2 separate regions of the Homo sapiens genome follow, and region 2 is linked to region 1. Evidence: promoter capture Hi-C in 16 types of primary human blood cells and fetal thymus (Javierre and others, 2016). All regions are on one chromosome and are shown on one strand. Each heading gives the region's core, a stretch centred on a gene start or on the middle of the fragment in contact. The rest is flanking DNA. Distances are from core to core; before and after follow the strand shown. Region 1 holds the start of ANAPC13 (anaphase promoting complex subunit 13). Region 2 holds the start of GSK3B (glycogen synthase kinase 3 beta).

Evidence for each region. Contacts are between HindIII fragments. The CHiCAGO score rates a contact against its expected background, and 5 or more counts as called.
Region 2: the fragment with the promoter of GSK3B here is called in contact with the fragment with the promoter of ANAPC13 in region 1 in 1 of 17 cell types (total B cells); the score reaches 5.7 in total B cells.

The regions. Positions count from the first base shown.
Region 1 is chr3:134,482,070-134,487,392 of GRCh38, reverse strand. ANAPC13 (anaphase promoting complex subunit 13) reads left to right here and starts at 1,408. Exons shown (of 3, transcript NM_015391.4): 1 at 1,408-1,441; 2 at 4,462-4,587. The coding sequence starts at 4,489. CEP63 (centrosomal protein 63) reads right to left here and starts at 1,336. Exons shown (of 15, transcript NM_001353108.3): 1 at 1,191-1,336. RefSeq lists enhancers at 404-1,222, 1,314-1,423, 1,504-1,603, 1,634-1,753. The HindIII fragment of the contact is 3,493 bases long and covers 1,229-4,721 here.
Region 2 is chr3:120,092,449-120,097,488 of GRCh38, reverse strand. It overlaps GSK3B (glycogen synthase kinase 3 beta), which reads left to right and starts at 3,042. Exons shown (of 11, transcript NM_001146156.2): 1 at 3,042-4,142. The coding sequence starts at 4,055. It overlaps GSK3B-DT (GSK3B divergent transcript), which reads right to left and starts at 2,385. Exons shown (of 3, transcript NR_186629.1): 1 at 1,711-2,385. RefSeq lists enhancers at 1,934-2,253, 2,533-2,827, 2,454-2,863. The HindIII fragment of the contact is 3,897 bases long and covers 2,391-5,040 here.

The sequences.
Region 1 (5,323 bases), core at 159-2,658:
TACATTTTAAAAGGCAGTGTGCCTGTTTATAAATCTCTACTCTAATTTAGTTTCAGAGCTTTTTACTACCCTGATCACTGATAATGCCACAGTCAAAAAGCAAACTCAAAATAAAAATCAATCTAAAAATGGTACTGCATGCCAAATAAGAAAATATATACACTTTATCATTAAGCTACAGCTAACAGAAATCTAATCAACGATCCTTATGATTTCCTCGTATCTAAAAAATAAATGCAAGCACTTGAGGAACTGTATAAATACAGGGCATCTACCCTACAATACTGCTTTATTAAAATAATAAATTCTTTTAATAAGTTTAACCAGACATAAGGCTCAGGGAAAACTACTCTGTGCATATCAGCGTACGGTGCTGAAACTGTAAAAGACGACCTGTCTCTGACATCATACTCATCTTTACTCTCCTGATGTCGTAAGGGACGTAAGAAAAACCACATTATAAGCCTAAATGTACTGTCTTCAAGTATCTCCATGATTAAAGTGTTCCTAAGAAACCGTCCTTATTTCTTTCTATCCCTCATTTGTGTGCATGGAGCCGTTAGTTCAGGGTTCTCCAATTTCAGTCCACGATTTATGCCACATTTCCGTACCTCTTGTACTAACATAACCGTTTAAACCAACTCACTATTTTAAAAGCTGCCAACCTTAACATGCCACACTAAATGAGCGGGTCCCCTTGTGCCGTGAATGAAGTAGTCCCAACAGCGCTAGCTAGACAGCAGCCCTGGCAGGGAGGCCGCACTGGGGTCTCTCCGCTGAAAAGGAAGGTGGGTCCGCCGGGGAAGGTGAGTACTGGGCGCAGCTCGCTCGCCCACCTGGCCACTCTCCGAAGCGCCCCCAGCCACCTGGACTCCGAGGAAGGGCTGACCACCTGGCGGGGCCGAACCCCACGCCGGGCTGCGCCACGCCAGACTCCGCCAGTGTGCAGGGCATAGCGGGCCAGGCCGAGGGACTGGGCTTCGGGGCGGACCCAAGCCGGCGGGGACGCGCCTGGTGGTTCGCAGGCCGTTGCGCAAACCGGCCGCAAGCCATGAGGCCGCGAAGCCAGAATCACCAAGGCAGCCTGGGCCGCCTCCAGACCAGGACACGGCAGCCCCTTGCCCCTCCAACTTGCGCACCGGCGGTTACAGGGTTGCCGCAAGCACGCCCCTGAGCCTTCCCGCCGTTACCTCGGGCCGGCGCTGCGCACGCGCGCCACCGCTAAGCTTACGTCCAGCCTCTGTAGTCGGCGCGTTTGTTCCGCCCACTGCCCCCACACTTTTAATAATTGAAACAATGCCTTCTCCAGACTTCCCCTGCACGCGAGCAAATGAACTCACCCACATCCGGGAATCCGAGGAAAGCGAGTGCAGACACGTGATGCGGGGGAGGGGGGGGGGGCGTGGCAGGAGCAAGCGTCTGCCGCGGTGGCCGGGTGCCGGTAAGGGTTTCCAGCGCCCCCGGCCTAGGTTTTGGAGGCGCGGGAATGCGTTCGTTGCTCAGTGTCGGACTTCCCCCTATTCCCATCGGCCGAGGCTGTCACTTTACGCTCATAACCGTTTTTCTTTACTGCACTCGTGTCGGGAGGAAAGGGACTTGCGTGGCACCCCCAGACCTCCCCGTCTCCGCTTCCACGTTTGGTACATCCTGCCTGAGGCAGGAAGCCGCAGCTGAGGGACGGCCTGTCGTACGGTGCGGATGGTGGTGGCCTGCGAGGCTCATTTCTAGCAAGGAACAAGGCTTTCCCGCTTTGATTTTATAAATATTATGTTTACAAAGCTGTAATATATAGAAATTGATAAGACGTGTCCCTGTCCCTGGAAACGCAGGCACCGCGTGTTTGGAAAGACATTCATCTGGGCTGTTTGACAGACTCCCCAGTTGGTGCCATGCTCTGTGCTTAGGGAACTGTGAGACCCCTGGAGGGGTGGGTACCGGGACCGCACTCAGCCTGGGGTTTGGAGGCGGCCTCCTATAGGAAGCGACCTGGGACCTAAGATTTTTAGACTGACTGTGGGTTCACTGGAATAAAAAGGAAGAAACAAAGAGCATTGCAGGCATCGGGACTGTCACGTGAGTAAGAAAAGTTTGTTCAGGAAACAGTGGTCGTACTGGGTGACGAGTACTTGGGACGGTGGCTTTAATACACAAGATAATCAGTGTGCCCTGGGCATTGATTATCTTGATGCTTCCCATCCTTCCAGCCCCTTATGAGGGAAGGCACCTTCGCGCCTAATCCCGGAAATGGGATGTTGACCTTCAAGAGCTGACGCCTGCGTTTATCTTGAAAGGAAGAGTGGCATTAGTGATGTGGAAAAGGGGGTTTTAACTGTCAAGGCTGGAAAATGTGACAGGGTTGGAGGTGTTTGGAGAAGGGACAGGTGAAAAAGATTGAGACCAAATGTGGAAAGATCTACTAAGGAATCATGGGTACAAAATGTACACGTAACAGTTGGAGGCAATAATACCTGAGCAATTGACCACAAAGCTGACCTAGCTTGTTTAGTAGATTAAGTTAGGACAAGAAGCAAGAGTTCAAGGATAGAAGGCCTACTGAAGCTCGAGTGATTTGAGAAAACTTTACAAAGGTGGAAAATCTACGTGGGCCTCCGAAAGTCAGGTTTGGATCAGCTGAGGAAAGTGAGAAGGGTATCCCAGGAGACAGAGCAGCAAGGACAAAGGAGTAGCAGCAGGAAAGTGGGGAGCACTTGTAAGACAGGGACTTCAAAAGTATAACCAAAACTTCGTCTTGCTTTGAGTTATCCACTGGGTAGTACTCGGTTAATTATTGAGTACTGGATTAATTAAGCCCTCACCTGGCTCACCGGTGACAGAAGTAGCAGGGCGCATTTTGCTTAACTTTTGCCGAGATCCTTGTCATGGGGGTGTAAACCCTTTCCCACACCAATCTGTGTATAATTTTTGCCAAGGTGTTAGGGATATCTTGCAGTTATCCTATGGGGGACAGCTGTGAGCCTTTTTGGTTTTTTTTGTTTTTTTTTTTCCGAGACGGAATCTTGCTCTGTCGCCCAGGCTGGAGTGCAGTGGCGCGTGGCGCTATCTCGGCTCACTGCAAGCTCCGCCTCCCAGGTTCACGCCATTCTCCTGCCTCAGCCTCCCGAGTAGCTGGGACTACAGGCGCCTGCCACCATGCTCGGCTAATTTTTTGTATTTTTAGTAGAGACGAGGTTTCACCCTGTTAGCCAGGATGGTGTTGATCTCCTGACCTCGTGATCCGCCCACCTCGGTCTCCCAAAGTGCTGGATTACAGGCGCGAGCCACCGCGCCCGGCCCTGTGAGCCATTTTTACAAAAACTTCCACCTGCCTTGGCCCAAACCTCAGCGTTCTTAGGCACAGGAGCTCATGAACATACTGAGATAACACTAAACTGGACTATGCGAAGGGACCAACTACAGACCTGACACAAATCCTCAAGGCAAGACGATGTCTGAAGTTGAGCTTGTAAAGGAAATGGCTTCCTTCCTTAAAATATCACCCAGGCTGAGCTCTGAAAAAAGCACCTCCAGATGGTGGGTTCCACCCCGCTCCACCACCCCAAAATTGCTTATTGTGTGAGTCTCCATAGTCTCAGAAACTGAGAGTACCTTTGATGCCAGTGGCTTCCGGGCTTTTTGGATTGTCACTTGGTAGCAGGGAGCACCCATAGGATGATGCCTATGATGAGTCAGGGCCCAACCTTGGAAACAGGGAAATCCAGAAGTATCCTACAAGCTAGCCAGCCTTTTGGATTAGATTATAGCAGTTTCAGAGAAAAATGGGGAATCAGCCATGGTCAAGGAGCTAAATAAGCATCGTGACCATTTGGGCCAGAAATTGAAGGGAGTGTAGCGTTAAGAATTAGAGGAAGGAACCTCCGAGGAAGGAGCTACCCCAAAGGGAAGCAGAAACTGGAGAAACTTTAGCAGTATGAGGTTCTACCACTGGTGTTCACCTAGAAGTGCTTTATTCAGATCTCAGCCTGGGTACTATTTTAGGGAAGGAAGCCGTTTCCTTTACAGTATGTTCGTGTGACTCCTGTGCCTAAGAATGCTGAGGTTTGAGCCAGGGGCTAGAAAGGAAACTTAGCTGGCCATTATGAATCAGGGACTCATCAAAGGCATCACAAACAGGAAAAGGTGAATGTTCAAGTTAGAAGAGAAGAGCTACATTGAGATGCAACATATTAATATTTGAGGGCCTCGTTTAACGTGTTGCTCTCCTGTCACACTCTATGACACTGGTCTGTCAGCTGGGCTATGCCTGTCCAGTATACACTATAAAATATGTATCAGTTGGGGTTGGAGAGAGGAACTGTGATCAAAGTAGTCACCCGGCCCATATGAGAAAATGAACCTTTTCCCAAAAGGTGGCCCCAGACTAAAAAGCCTGGAGAATCCTAATAGTGGATTATACCATCTCTTCAGTCTTCGTGTTTAAGAAATAACCTCTTTGGCTTACAGATTTGACAAGATCAAAGCTGCAGGAAAATGGACAGTGAGGTTCAGAGAGATGGAAGGATCTTGGATTTGATTGATGATGCTTGGCGAGAAGACAAGCTGCCTTATGAGGATGTCGCAATACCACTGGTAGGTTATGATTTGAGCTGAGGATGGGTTAAAGGTATTGATCTGGCAGTAACTAGTGGAGGAGGGATATCAATGGAAGATAAACTAGTGTGGCAAAGAAATCAAAGCTGTGGAATTCTCTAACTCTAGAAGCTTCTGGAGAGCATCCAGTTGTATGTTTTATTTGAAGAAAAATGTGGTTCAGGGAGCTAACATGGCCAGGTCAGTTAGGAGTCATGCCAGGACTAGAGCCCCGATTTTCTGAGCCATGTTCTGTCCACCACACGAAAACCAGAGAAACCAAATAATGAGAGTTTAATGCGCAAGATGGGGAAGAACAAGAAGCAGCAGCATATGAGCTCTGTTTCTTACTTCCCTGCCTGTGGCTCATCAGTCTTTCAGCATTTTTAGAAACTTACATTCTTGGAGCATACACCTATCTTAGGTTCCCTGGAAAATATTCAGAAGATACCTGGGTATTCTTTTGCGTTTAGGCCAGTGGCCTTCTGGAATACTCTTTTCTTCCCCATCTTTGGAAAACTCTGCTGCAGGGAGTTTGTTAAACCTCATGTAATAAGTGATCCAAAAGTTTTGCTTATATAAATGTTTGTTTAAAATCCTATTTATGTCATAGAGGCCTAAAAAAGGGAAAACAGGACTGTTTTTCTTTAAAGCATGCCAGCTGCCCTGAGAAGAGTAGTTAGTATTGAATAAAATATAATTTATAGTTAGAATATCTGCTGTTGCTGTTTGCAAA
Region 2 (5,040 bases), core at 1,793-4,292, about 14 Mb after region 1:
AAACTATCTCAAGGTCTCCAAATACCTTGTTAAACATTTCAGCCATTGCATAACCTTTTCTCTTTGCCTGGAATGTTCTTTCCTTCCTTATCCATCTGTACAACTGTACAACTATTCTTTGTCTAAACTAGTGGTTCATAAACTTTTTTTTTTTTTTTTTTTTTGAGACGGAGTTTTGCTCTTGTTGCCTTGGCTGGAGTGCAATGGTGCGATCTCAGCTCACTGCAACCTCCACCTCCTGGGTTCAAGCAATTATCCTGCCTCAGCCTCCCAAGTAACTGGTATTATAGACGCCCGCCACCACGCCCAGCTAAGTTTTAAAGTTTTAGTAGAGACGGGGTTTCACCATGATGACCAGGCTAGTCTTGAACTCCTAACCTCAGGCGATCCACCTGCCTCGGCCTCCCAAATTGCTGGGATTACAGTCATAAGCCACCACTCCTGGCTTGTCCATAAACTCTTGATCTTGAGCTAACATGATATGCACATTATAAGATACACACAGAAATAAAAAAAGGATTAAAGGTGCACTATTTTAAAGATAAATTTCAACCGGCCCGGTGTGGTGGCTTACGCCTGTAATCCTGACACTCTGTGAGGCTGAGGCAGGCAGATCACCTGAGGTCGGGAGTTCGAGACCAGCCTGACCAACATGAAGAAACCCCGTCTCTACTAAAAATACAAAAGTAGCTGGCATGGTGGCACATGCCTGTGATCCCAACTACTTGGGAGGCTGAGGCAGGAGAATCACTTGAATCGGGGAGGCGGAGGTTGCGGTGAGCCGAGATCGCGCCACTGCACTCCAGCCTGGGCAACAAGAGTGAAACTCCGTCTCAAAAATAAATAAATAAATAAAGATACATTTCAATTATTTAAGGTCCCAAACCATTTTGTTTTCACCCTCCTACTGCTATCGGGCCCCTAACAATTATTAACACTTTTTCCAATGCCTCATTGGCCAAGGGATGTTTTTAGGTTGGCCTGCAGGGTTTGAAAATTTGGTTACCAACATTTAAAAATGCAGAGATTTCACACAAAAATCCAATTTTGGGGTTTCTTTTGGGAGGAAAAAAATTGAACATCTGAGAACACTGGACCCACATTCCTGAGGGCAACAATCTGCTAGAGTTGAGCAGCTGTTCCTTTTAGTTATGGCATGGATATTCCAATTTGCCATTTTCCCTATCATTCCCCATTGTCTTACACAAGGCCAGTCTCACTCATTTGCTTTACTTGTCTGGCCTCTGTAGCCATTTGAATCTGCAAACACTATCTAGACCTTTCCTGTCTTCCATCAAAGCTTACTTTGTTCTGTCCCAAGTCCTTCATCAGTGTTTCAAAGCAAGAGCCAGGTAATCTGATCAAATATAGGTCCTTTAACATGTGCTTTCTGGAGACAGCATCTTAACAGAAAGAGATGACTCTGCAGGTAGAAATTACAGGCACCACTGGATTACAATCAGGATGGCAACTGTCTGTTCTACTTTCTCTGTTATCTTGACGTAGCCATACCTCACTGTTCTAAAGCAGACCAAAGGAACTGGTTCTATGGTAGAACAATGGACGCTGGTCTTATGTATGAAATCTTCTCAAGCTGCACTTTTATAGATCACCCTAGTTCCAAAAGATCCAAAGCTACCACGGGCTCCTCTGACCCCCCCATTTCCTCGGAGGCTTCAGGATATCCGGCCTGACGGCATTTCCCCTCACCTGCTTTCGGGGCCCGTTTTGCGCTGGGCAGTTGCGCCCAAGGAGCGCGCGCATCCAGCATGAGCTCATTTCTCATGGGCGTTTCCAGAGGCCCGGCCGGGCCGCGCACACCAAGCGCAGCAAGCCTCTGTATCAATGGCCCCCGCGGCTGGGCGGGGCGCGGCCGCCCAAAGGCGCTGCCTTTCTGGAAGCTTTGTTCCCATTTTAGCGTCTGAGAGCTTGCAGCCGGCTGGGAAGGCCCCCTTGGTCCGTCTGGCCCTTTCGGGGAAGAGGCCAACACTCGGCACACGCGATCCACGGCAGAGGGGAGCCTTGGGCGCGCAGAATTGGCTGCGCCCCGCCGAGAGCCTCCTGTGGGTGGGGAGAGCCCCTCCACCCCTCTGCTCGCTTGAGCGCTCAGAGCCCAGGGCCGCCGACCGCAGCACTTTCCGATTTGCTGCACCGAGGGCCCGCGGTCCCTGTGTGCGGTTTCCACCGTTGTTGGAGGCGGCCGCAGGCGAACCGTCGGGTCGTCAGCCACGACCCGAGTCAGGCATCTCCCCGCTCCTGGGACCGGGGCCGAAGGCCAATCACACTGCAGCTAGGTCTTGCGATTGGACGGCAGTGAGAGCCGATTGGCCGCCGCCGCGAGTTTCGGGCTCCCTCCCTCTCCCTTTTGCCCCAACTCCAGCGCCTAAGCTTCAGGCCAATGAGACAGCGCTTTATAGACGCCCTCCCTTCGCTTTCTTCTCCCCACCTTGGAGAGGGAGGGGAAGTCCTGACTGGCCAGACTGTCCTCGGAAGCCCCCTTCTCTTCACCAATCACCGAAGGAGGTACGCTCCCAGCGGAGTTTTCCAGCCAATCACAAAGCGGCGGCGGCGCCCAGCCGTGCAGTTTCACCAGCGTCTCTGGGTTTCACCGTCCTCAACTCTTCAAGCCTCTTCGTAAGGGCCGGCGACTCTGATTGGCCACTGTTGCCATTGTCGAATGTCTCCTCCAGCCAGCCACCGAACAAGGCGAATTCACCCTTTCCGTTCGGCTACCTTCGGCATTTTCCGCTCTTTGGGCGTGGCTTCCCAGCGTCACTTTCTAATTGGTTTCTCAGGCTGATCGGCTTTTTCCGGGAGGAGCCGCAAACAAACGACGTCCGTGATTGGCTCCGTTCGGGCTTCGGCTCCCAGCCGAAGCGGGCGAGCGTGGGGCTCGGCCGGCGATTCCCAGACGCCTGTTACGCGGGCGGCGGGGCGCTGGGCGGTGTAAGGCTGGGTGGGGGAGGAAGGAGGTGGAGGACGAGTAGGAGGGGGGAGGAGGAGTGGGGAAGTGCAAGGCGGCTGCGCAGACAGCGCTCCTCACACAGAGCAGCTCCTGACCCGGGCGAATGCGGGCTTGTGCCGCCGCCGCCGCCGCCGCCGCCCGGGCCAAGTGACAAAGGAAGGAAGGAAGCGAGGAGGAGCCGGCCCCGCAGCCGCTGACAGGGCTCTGGGCTGGGGCAAAGCGCGGACACTTCCTGAGCGGGCACCGAGCAGAGCCGAGGGGCGGGAGGGCGGCCGAGCTGTTGCCGCGGACGGGGGAGGGGGCCCCGAGGGACGGAAGCGGTTGCCGGGTTCCCATGTCCCCGGCGAATGGGGAACAGTCGAGGAGCCGCTGCCTGGGGTCTGAAGGGAGCTGCCTCCGCCACCGCCATGGCCGCTGGATCCAGCCGCCGCCTGCAGCTGCTCCTGGCGCAATGAGGAGAGGAGCCGCCGCCACCGCCACCGCCCGCCTCTGACTGACTCGCGACTCCGCCGCCCTCTAGTTCGCCGGGCCCCTGCCGTCAGCCCGCCGGATCCCGCGGCTTGCCGGAGCTGCAGCGTTTCCCGTCGCATCTCCGAGCCACCCCCTCCCTCCCTCTCCCTCCCTCCTACCCATCCCCCTTTCTCTTCAAGCGTGAGACTCGTGATCCTTCCGCCGCTTCCCTTCTTCATTGACTCGGAAAAAAAATCCCCGAGGAAAATATAATATTCGAAGTACTCATTTTCAATCAAGTATTTGCCCCCGTTTCACGTGATACATATTTTTTTAGGATTTGCCCTCTCTTTTCTCTCCTCCCAGGAAAGGGAGGGGAAAGAATTGTATTTTTTCCCAAGTCCTAAATCATCTATATGTTAAATATCCGTGCCGATCTGTCTTGAAGGAGAAATATATCGCTTGTTTTGTTTTTTATAGTATACAAAAGGAGTGAAAAGCCAAGAGGACGAAGTCTTTTTCTTTTTCTTCTGTGGGAGAACTTAATGCTGCATTTATCGTTAACCTAACACCCCAACATAAAGACAAAAGGAAGAAAAGGAGGAAGGAAGGAAAAGGTGATTCGCGAAGAGAGTGATCATGTCAGGGCGGCCCAGAACCACCTCCTTTGCGGAGAGCTGCAAGCCGGTGCAGCAGCCTTCAGCTTTTGGCAGCATGAAAGTTAGCAGTGAGTATTGGTTTTATTTTACACCCCTTTTCCACCTCGCCCTTAAAATAAGAAACCTCGAAATACCAGGATCTGAAATTATTAGACCTCCTGATAAACAGGCAATGGAAAAGGGCAAAACCTATCTTCAGTCAAGGATGAAGCAGCTCCCTTTTTACTCCTCCCATACCCCCTCCCCCGGTCTCATTAACCTTGAATTGAGATAATATGATATTTATTTGGATGATTCGATTTCAAACTGCTTTCTTGTACTTTTCTTGCTGTTGGTAGTCAGTTTCATCAAGTGCTCGAGTGTTTCCACGTTAAAGTAGTGATGACAGTGTTTACTTGCCCATCCTTTAGAATAAAGAGAAGGACAAGATTTGATTACTAAACCATTATGCACATTTGCAGAATTTTTGGAATTTGGAATGAGAGAATATTTTAGGTCTCAGGGGTTATCATAGTTTGATATACTTAATAGAGACGTTAAATGTCCCACCCTCCCAACATTTTTTTCTTGTTTGTATGACTACACATAATATTTGTTCTTAATCTGTGGATGAACTTCCTCAGTAACCATTCACATTTGGAGGCTGCCATTGATTTCTCTCTTTAGAAGGGACTAGTGGGAGCCAATAAATACCTAGCAGCAGTAACATCTCTGTATGCATTTGTGTTCAATTGGATAAGTGGTTTGATGTGTTATCTCTTAACCTTCCTGTTTTGACATTACCAACCTGCCACCGTATAATTTATGTTTAATCAAAAGTTAACTTGGAAGTATTAATAGGTCCAAGTTTTGATTGAGATTTGTTTTGTCATAGTGCCAAATACTAAGTTAAATGTTGTCACTGGCTCATTACATTTAAGTTCAATTTTGGAGTGCTACTGCATTCATTACCTGTTAAATGTTCTG